Regions from separate parts of the Homo sapiens genome. Here all the other regions are linked to region 1. The links are contacts of gene promoters, found by promoter capture Hi-C in blood cells and fetal thymus (Javierre and others, 2016). All regions are on one chromosome and are shown on one strand. The core of a region is centred on a gene start or on the middle of the fragment in contact, and the rest is flanking DNA. Distances in the headings are between cores, read along the strand shown.

What was found. Contacts are between HindIII fragments. The CHiCAGO score rates a contact against its expected background, and 5 or more counts as called.
Region 2: a contact is called between the fragment with the promoter of RPS9 here and the fragment with the promoter of LILRB2 in region 1, in 2 of 17 cell types (neutrophils and monocytes). The highest score is 7.3, in neutrophils.
Region 3: a contact is called between a fragment that was not itself captured here and the fragment with the promoter of LILRB2 in region 1, in 4 of 17 cell types (total B cells, naive B cells, neutrophils and 1 more). The highest score is 9.8, in total B cells.

Annotation. Positions count from the first base shown.
Region 1 is chr19:54,279,831-54,282,550 of GRCh38, reverse strand. It overlaps LILRB2 (leukocyte immunoglobulin like receptor B2), which reads left to right and starts at 1,441. Exons shown (of 14, transcript NM_001080978.4): 1 at 1,441-1,590; 2 at 2,007-2,088; 3 at 2,252-2,287; 4 at 2,476-2,720. The coding sequence starts at 2,055. It overlaps MIR4752 (microRNA 4752), which reads right to left and starts at 442; the gene lies at 371-442. RefSeq lists an enhancer at 2,328-2,720. The HindIII fragment of the contact is 13,229 bases long and covers 356-2,720 here.
Region 2 is chr19:54,199,517-54,202,216 of GRCh38, reverse strand. It overlaps RPS9 (ribosomal protein S9), which reads right to left and starts at 1,359. Exons shown (of 5, transcript NM_001013.4): 1 at 1,329-1,359; 2 at 936-1,057; 3 at 608-730. The coding sequence starts at 1,032. RefSeq lists a silencer at 1,046-1,539 and an enhancer at 1,302-1,971. The HindIII fragment of the contact is 3,345 bases long and covers 1-2,697 here.
Region 3 is chr19:54,395,227-54,398,177 of GRCh38, reverse strand. No RefSeq gene overlaps it. Among named protein-coding and RNA genes, the nearest start is that of TTYH1, 19 kb to the left of the region's middle. The HindIII fragment of the contact is 1,914 bases long and covers 410-2,323 here.

The sequences.
Region 1 (2,720 bases), core at 192-2,691:
CATGCACTCCATATTGTAATCCTTGCTTCTCACTCCCAAATAAACTCAAAATCCAGGCAACCCTGGAGCAATGCAGCCTTGAATTCCAGGGGTCTCTTATATGCACACTTTTTCCAAACAAACGGGGATCAAAACTATAGCATTTGTGAGAAACAAGACTTGCGTATATGAACGGCAGACTTTTCCTATATGCAGACCCAGCAGAGACAACGTCAGGGCTGGAGTACGAGCAAGTGTTGGTACATGTAGGGGGTACTGAAACGAATTGCCTGTGTATCCCAAGAAACAACTGTACTGAGAGATCATATTTTCTAGGGGTTTATTTTTGGTTTTGTTTTTATTTTAGGTTAAAGCTTTGGATAGAATACCCAGTGTCTCCTTGTCCATCTGAAGAACATGCTGCTATGTGGAAGCACATCCTTGAGATCCACAAGGAGACACTGGGCAAGAAGACAAGGATGCCCCACTGTGCAGAGGTCCCCCTAATAAATGCTCTATGAACACCCTGGTGTTTAGTGCTTCTTTCCTTGGAATTCCAGCAGGTCTGGACAGTTTGGTGCACTCCCTTGAGGGAATTCCCCTGGGCTGCTTGGGGTCCACTCCAGCCTCAGGTGTAGCTAGAGGACGCAGCCTCCCACCTTGGTCTGGAGCCCTGAGCCCCTCACTGTCATTGCAGATCCCGGGGTTCCTCTCCCGGCTCCACTCAGTGGTGGAAACCTCCACCCTAATGAGCCCTTGATGGTCCCGGGACCCTGTGGCATCTCACCTCTGGCCTCTGTTCTTTCTTGTGAGTCCGTCTACACTTGGGGTTTCCACATGTCTTTTTCTGCTCATGACCTTGATACTCTGGGTATTTCAGAAATGCTACACATACGTTTCTCCATTACGGTCAGATGTGACATCTTGAGTGGACTCATCAATCACCTACAGAATGTGGAGTCCAACAGCAAGATCCTCTCACGTCCCAAAGCCTCAGGTCTTACCCTGGTCTGGAAATCAAGCACAAATGAGCCCCTCCCAATGTCCCAGGCACCACTGACCCCACAACCACTGTGACGAGTGGGATTCATGACAACAATCTGCAAAGGAAGAAACTGAGGCTCAGTGATGGGACATTACAAACCAAGGTCACGTAGGCAGCGGATGATAACCAGTCATCAAATAAATATCAACTCCCTCCCCCACTCCCCAAATCAAAGCTCAAACATAAGTCATTGTTCCCAAAATGTTGACCAGGAATTGAGGTGCAGAGGGACGGCTAAGGACGCAATGGGCACCGAGGAGGCAGGAAAGACTCAGAGGTTTCTTCCCGGGGGGGAGGGAGTGGACGCTGGAGCAAAAACATTTAAAAAGGGGAAGTTAAGAGGGGACTATTTGGTTGAAAGAAAACCCACAATCCAGTGTCAAGAAAGAAGTCAACTTTTCTTCCCCTACTTCCCTGCATTTCTCCTCTGTGCTCACTGCCACACACAGCTCAACCTGGACAGCACAGCCAGAGGCGAGATGCTTCTCTGCTGATCTGAGTCTGCCTGCAGCATGGACCTGGGTCTTCCCTGAAGCATCTCCAGGGCTGGAGGGACGACTGCCATGGTAAGGACCCCACAACGCTGTGCTGATGGATGGGCTGAAGGAGGGAGGGTGACCATGTGGGAAGCTGTGAGAAGGAAGGGGAAGCCACTGCTACCCTCATCAGGAAGGGCAGACACAAGAAGCACCAGTTCTATTTGCTGCTACATCCCGGCTCTCGGTGAGACGAGGAGAAACCAGACAGACAGTGGCTGGGGGTCAGGAAAGACCCCATTACAGTCTGAAATGTCTGCAGAGGGCCCAGTGCCTGCCCCCACCTCAGCTCTAAAAGAATGAGAGTCAGGCTCCTGGGAGGGCAGTTCCGCTTCTTGTGTGGCTGCAGATGACAACACCCCATGAGAAGGACCCAGCCTCTGAGTGTCCACACAGGGTGGGAAGGAGGGGAGGCTATTTCTCTCTGTGTGTCTCTGTCCCGCCAGCACCGAGGGCTCATCCATCCGCAGAGCAGGGCAGTGGGAGGAGACGCCATGACCCCCATCGTCACAGTCCTGATCTGTCTCGGTGAGATTTGAAGAGAGAGGGGAGCTTCTAACCTAGGAGGGACCTCACCCCACAGCCAAACTCTGGTCCCTAAGGAGACCCCAGGGGCTCACAAAGATCCCAGGGAGGGGAGGACCTGCTCAGGCTTCAGGGGGCAAATCCCTCACAGGGAACTCTCTTCCAGGGCTGAGTCTGGGCCCCAGGACCCGCGTGCAGACAGGTGAGTCTGTCCCCAGCTCTCCCAGGTCCCTCCTCCTCACTGGGGACAAGGGGCCACCTCCGTGCAGCTGGGGATGGGGATTAGAAGTTCTGGACTGACTGATGGGGGCATCTGGAGGGTCCTGGGCTGAGAGCTGAGATCTGTTGGGTGGGAAATGACTTCGAATCTGACCTTTGATTTCCTTCCAGGGACCATCCCCAAGCCCACCCTGTGGGCTGAGCCAGACTCTGTGATCACCCAGGGGAGTCCCGTCACCCTCAGTTGTCAGGGGAGCCTTGAAGCCCAGGAGTACCGTCTATATAGGGAGAAAAAATCAGCATCTTGGATTACACGGATACGACCAGAGCTTGTGAAGAACGGCCAGTTCCACATCCCATCCATCACCTGGGAACACACAGGGCGATATGGCTGTCAGTATTACAGCCGCGCTCGG
Region 2 (2,700 bases), core at 110-2,609, 80 kb after region 1:
CGAGACTCCGTCTCAAAAGTAAAATTAGCCAGGTGTGGTGGCGTGCGCCTGTCTGTAGTCCCAGCTACTTGGGAGGCTAAGATAGGAGAATTGTTTGAACCCAGGAGGCGGGGGTTGCAGTAAGCCGAAATGGCGCCACGGCACTCCAGCCTGGGCAACAGAGCAAGACTCCGTCTCAAAAGACTAAATAAAACGAGAAAACTTAATTAAAAAAACAATAAACCAAGCAAATGTGCAAACCCTGTTATCACCATCACTTAGCCCAGAAATTCCACTTCATAGTCTACTCTCATCCACTAGCAAACAGGCCACATAAACAGAATATAAAGATATAGACGGGTGCCCAGGTGTGCCAGGCCTATCTTTAGCTCTGGTCATTACTAAACTGAAGGTCCAATAACTGGGCAAAAAAGCCACACACCTAAGAAACAGGGCAAAGACTGATCCAGATACACTTTTCCTACTCCACAAGTGCCACTAAAAGTTAGAAGGCTGGTTCCATTTATCCAATGACACAACTCTCATCACTGGAACAGAGGCAACAGAAGGGAGAATGAACCTCACAAGCCCTGCACCCCATCCCTCTGCTGTGGACTCCCATACGCACCTTCGAACAGACGCCGTGGGTCCTTCTCATCAAGCGTCAGCAGTTCCCGGGCGGCCTTGCGGATCTTGGCCAGGGTAAATTTGACCCTCCAGACCTCACGTTTGTTCCGGAGCCCATACTCGCCTGGTGGGGAGAAGGGGGTGGACAAGTGTAGTCCCACGTACTGGCACAACAACTAGACTGGCAGCTTTGGAATCACAAAACCTTCCTAAACCACGAATAGTACCAAATTTAGGGGACGGACTAGATAGAGTACATGGGCACCTTCATCCACGTGCTAACCGCCTCCCGGAAGCCGAACCACTTCCCGGAAGCCTTGGCCACTCACCGATCAGCTTCAGCTCTTGGTCGAGACGAGATTTCTCGAAGGGTCTCCGCGGGGTCACATAAGTTTTGCGACAAACCCAGCTCCGGGCCACTGGCATGTTGGCTCCGCTTCCCCGTCTGCGCCTGCGCGGGAGAGAAGTGTGAGCGTAAGGGATCCAAACGGCGCCTGCGCAGTCCCACAACTACGCCAAAACCTCGCGGAGCCCAGATCCGATCTCGCGAGAATAACCTCCAACGCTCTCATAGTCAGTATCTGCCCCCACAACCGTGCTGCACTCCCGTTCAACCACCCTGCTCTGTTTCCTAACGTCTTTAGCTTACTCATGGAAACTCGGAAGGCCCGGGCCACCATCCAACCCAAACCCTAGAGAAAAAGCACACCACCGCACCTCACCTAAGCAAACCACCCGGTCACTGAGAAAGAGGCGCGGAAGCGCCACGGCTGCGCTCTTATAGTAACGCCGGCGTCTCGTGACGTTTTCACGCACCACGCACGTCAGAGCCAATCAGAAGAGGCGTTGGCTGGCTGAGAAGCAGTGGAGACGTGAGGCTGGGCTAGAGCGGCGTGCTAACCTGGGAGGACTAGGTTTTTTCCGGCCAGGGAGTGGAAACCTGAGAAGTAGGGAGAACCTTCCTTCTCCGCCCCTGGACGGTGGTTTTTCTTTTTCTTTCTGAGACAGGGTCTCGCTCCGTCGCCCAGGCTGGAGTGCAGTGGCGTGATTTCGGCTCACTGAGGCCCCGACCAACCTCTCGGGCTCGAGCGATCCTCCCACCTCCTCCCCAGTAGCTGGGATTACAGGCACACGCCACGACGCCCGGGTAGCATTTTTTTTTTTTAACAGTCGGCGTCTTGCCATGTTGCCCAGGCTGGTCTTGAACTCCCGGCCTCGAGAGAGCCTCCCGCCGTGGCCCCCCCAAAGTGCTGGGATTACAGGCGTGAGCCACCGCGCCCAGCCGAGATTATTTCTGTCACTAACAATAATGTGGCATTCTGGAACGCTATGTGCCACATACTGTTCTAAGAATTTTAAATGTATTTACTCAATCTTCAATACATACTTACAGAGCACTCTCAGAGAAGTTGCCCCCCCACCCATGGTACTATTATTATCAATAGCCACTTAAGGGGTATTAGTACTATTATCAGTAATTTATTTTATTTTTGAGACGGAGTTTTTCGCTCTCGTCACCCAGGCTGGAGTGCAGTGGTGCGATCTCGGCTCACTGCAACCTCCGCTTCCCGGGTTCAATCGATTCTCGTGCCTCAGCCTCCCGAGAAGCTGGGACTACAGGCGCCCACCACCATGCCCGGCTAATTTTTAAATTTTTAGTAGAGACGGGGTTTTGAACTCCTGGTCTCCAACGCCTGACCTCAAGTGATCCACCCGCCTCAGCCTCCCAAAGTGCTAAGATTACAGGTGTGAGCCACCGCGCCTGACCTAGAGTTCTCTTTTTATATATAGTCTGGTTATTGTCTGTCTGTACACCCATCTCTCCACTCCGAATGCGATGGTCTGTCTCCACAGCTCGTGTTCTTCAGTTGTCTTCCCTACGCTGCTGCCTCGGCAGTCACTATCTCCTCAGGAAGCAGTCCCACCCGCCCCTTTCTCTTCCACGGCATCCACACCATCCGGATGCCTGGATTCAAATGCCACGTCACCACTTGCCAGCTGCAGTGCCTTCGACAAGTTTCTCAATCACTCTGTGCCTCAGCGTCCTCCTCTGTAAAACGGCGAATGATGGTAGCGCCTACCTCATAAGCTTGT
Region 3 (2,951 bases), core at 117-2,616, 120 kb before region 1:
AGACAGAGTCTCACACTGTTGCCCAGGCTGGAGTGCGGTGGAATGATCTCGGCTCACTGCAAACTCTGCCTCCCAGGTTCAAGTAATTCTCCTGCCTCAGCCTCCCGAAGAGCTGGGATTACAGGCGCGCACCACCATGCCTGGCTAATTCTTGTATTTTCAGTAGAGACGGGGTTTCACCATGTTGTCCAGGCTGGTCTCAAACTCCTGACCTCAGGTGATCTGCCCGCCTCAGCCTCCCAAAGTGCTGGGATTATAGGCGTGAGCCACTGCACCTGGCCCCTTATTTGTTTAAAATAGTGTCTCTAAACCACATATTGGAATGAACTTGGTAAAAATGACAACAGAAACCATGAATTTTTTTTTGAAATGATTCGTGAAATCATTTTCAATGCCATAGTTTGAAGCTTTCCAATATAGGTCTATATCACAGTTTTTGTATTTTTGTACCTGTTGATGAACACATGGGCTTCTTTTATTTTAGTTACTTTTCTATTTCTATTTATTTTACTTTCCCTATTACGTAACAGACATTTTTTACATGTTTCTTGGTGCATATGTGCAAGAATTTTTAAAGAGTATACATATAAGAATGGAATGATTGCGCTATAGGGATTGTTAGTTTCAATTTTTTGAAATAGTGTCAAAGTGTTTCCAAAAGTAGCCTTACCAATTTTTTCCTGGCTTAATTGAGATATGATTGACAAATAAAAGCGTATATATTTGGTCAGGCGCGGTGGCTCATGCCTGTAATCCCAGCATTTTGGGAGGCCGAGGCGGGTGGATCACAAGGTCAGGAGATCGAGACCATCCTGGCTAACACGGTGAAACCCCGTCTCTACTAAAAAAAAAAATACAAAAATTAGCCGGGCGCCTGTAGTCCCAGCTACTCGGGAGGCTGAGGCAGGAGAATGGTGTGAAGCCGGGAGGCGGAGATTGCAGTGAGCCGAGATTGCGCCACTGCACTCCAGCCTGGGCGACAGAGCGAGACTCCGTCTCAAAAAGAGAAGTGTATATATTTAAGGTGTACAACATGATGTTTTGACATATGTACACATTGTGAAATAATTACCATAATCAAGATGTTTAACATATCCATCACCTCACTTTTTTTTCTGAGACAGAGTCTCATTCTGTCACTCAGCCTAGAGTGCAGTGGTGCGATCTCAGCTCACGGCAAACTCCACCTCCCACGTCAAGTGATTCTTGTGCCTCAGCCTCCCGAGTAGCTGGGATTACAGGTGTGTGCCACCACGTCTGGCTAATTTTTGTATTTTTTGTAGAGATGGGGTTTGGCCATGTTGCCCAGGCTGGTCTCAAACTGCTGACCTCAAGTGATCCACTTGCCTCAGCCTCCCAAAGTGCTTGGATTATAGGTGTGAGCCACCGTTCGTGGCCACATAGTTGTCATTTTTGCGTGTGTGGCGAGAGCCCTTACGATCTATTCTGCTAACAATGTTTAAGTACATAATACATTTTCACTAATTTGTCACCATGTTGCACAACAGATCTCTTGAATTTATTTTTTTCTATCTAAAATTGTGTACCCTCTGACCACGATCTTCCCAATCCCTACTCCCCTTCCCAAGCCCCTGGTCACCACCATTCCGCTCTCTGCTTCTGTGAGTTCAACTTTTTTTTTTTTTTTTTTTTTGAGACAGAGTCTCACTCTGTCGCCCAGGCTGGAGTGCAGTGGCGCAATCTCGGCTCACTGCAACCTCCGCCTCCCAGGTTCAAGCCATTCTCCTGCCTCAGCCTCCCGAGTAGCTGGGATTACAGGCATGCACCACCACGCCTGGCTAATTTTGAATTTTTAGTAGAGACGGGGTTTCTCCATATTGGTCAGGCTGGTCTCGAACTCCCAACCTCAGGTGATCTGCCCGCCTTGGTCTCCCAAAGTGCTGACAGGCGTGAGCCACCGTGCCCAGCCTCCCGAGTAGGTTTTGCCATGTTGGCCATGGCTAGTCTCGAAGGCCTGAGTTCAACTTTTTAATATTCCATGTATAAGTGAGGTTGTGCGATATTTGTCTTTCTGTATCTGGCTTATTTCATGTGGCATGATGTCCTGAAGGTTGACAATTACATCCATACTGTAAATGACAGGGTTTCCTTCCTTTCTAAGGCTGGATAGTATTTCCACTGTGTATATATACATTTCCTTTACCCATTGTCCACTGATGGAGACTTAGGTGATTCCATATGTTGGCTATTGTGAATAACTCTGCAATACACATAGGGGTGCAGACATCTCTTCCACACACTGGTTTCAGTTTCTTTGAGCATATACCCAGTAGTGGGATTGCTGCATCATGGAGGGTAAGCTTTTTTTGTTTTGTTTTGAGACAGAGTCTCGCTCTGTCGCTCAGGCTGGAGTGCAGCAATCTCGGCTCACTGCAAGTTCCGCCTCCCGGGTTCAAACTATTCTCCTGCCTCAGCCTCCCGAGTGGCTGGGACTACAGGTGCCTGCCACCACGCCCGGCTAATTTTTTGTATTTTTAGTAGAGATGGGGTTTCGCCATGTTGGCTAGGCTGGTCTCGATCTCCTGACCTCAGGGGATCCGCCTGCCTCAGCCTCCCAAAGTGCTGGGATTACAGGCGTGAGCCACCGCGCCCGGCCACAAAAGCAAATTTATGACAGGGACCTGGTGATGCGTGCTGCATCACACCACATCCTTCCATTCCTTTTCACAAAGAGACTCTAGTGGCTCATGCCTGTAATCCCAGCACTTTGGGAGGCCGAAGCGGGCGGATCACAAGGTCAGGAGTTCGAGACCAGCCTAGCCAACATGGCGAAACCCCATCTCTACTAAAAACACAAAAATTAGCCAGTCACGGTGGCTCACATCTGTAATCCCAGCACTTTGGGAGGCCAAGGCCCACAGATCACAGGGTCAGGAGTTCAAGACCAGCCTGGCCAACATGGGGAAACCCATCTCTACTAAAAATACAAA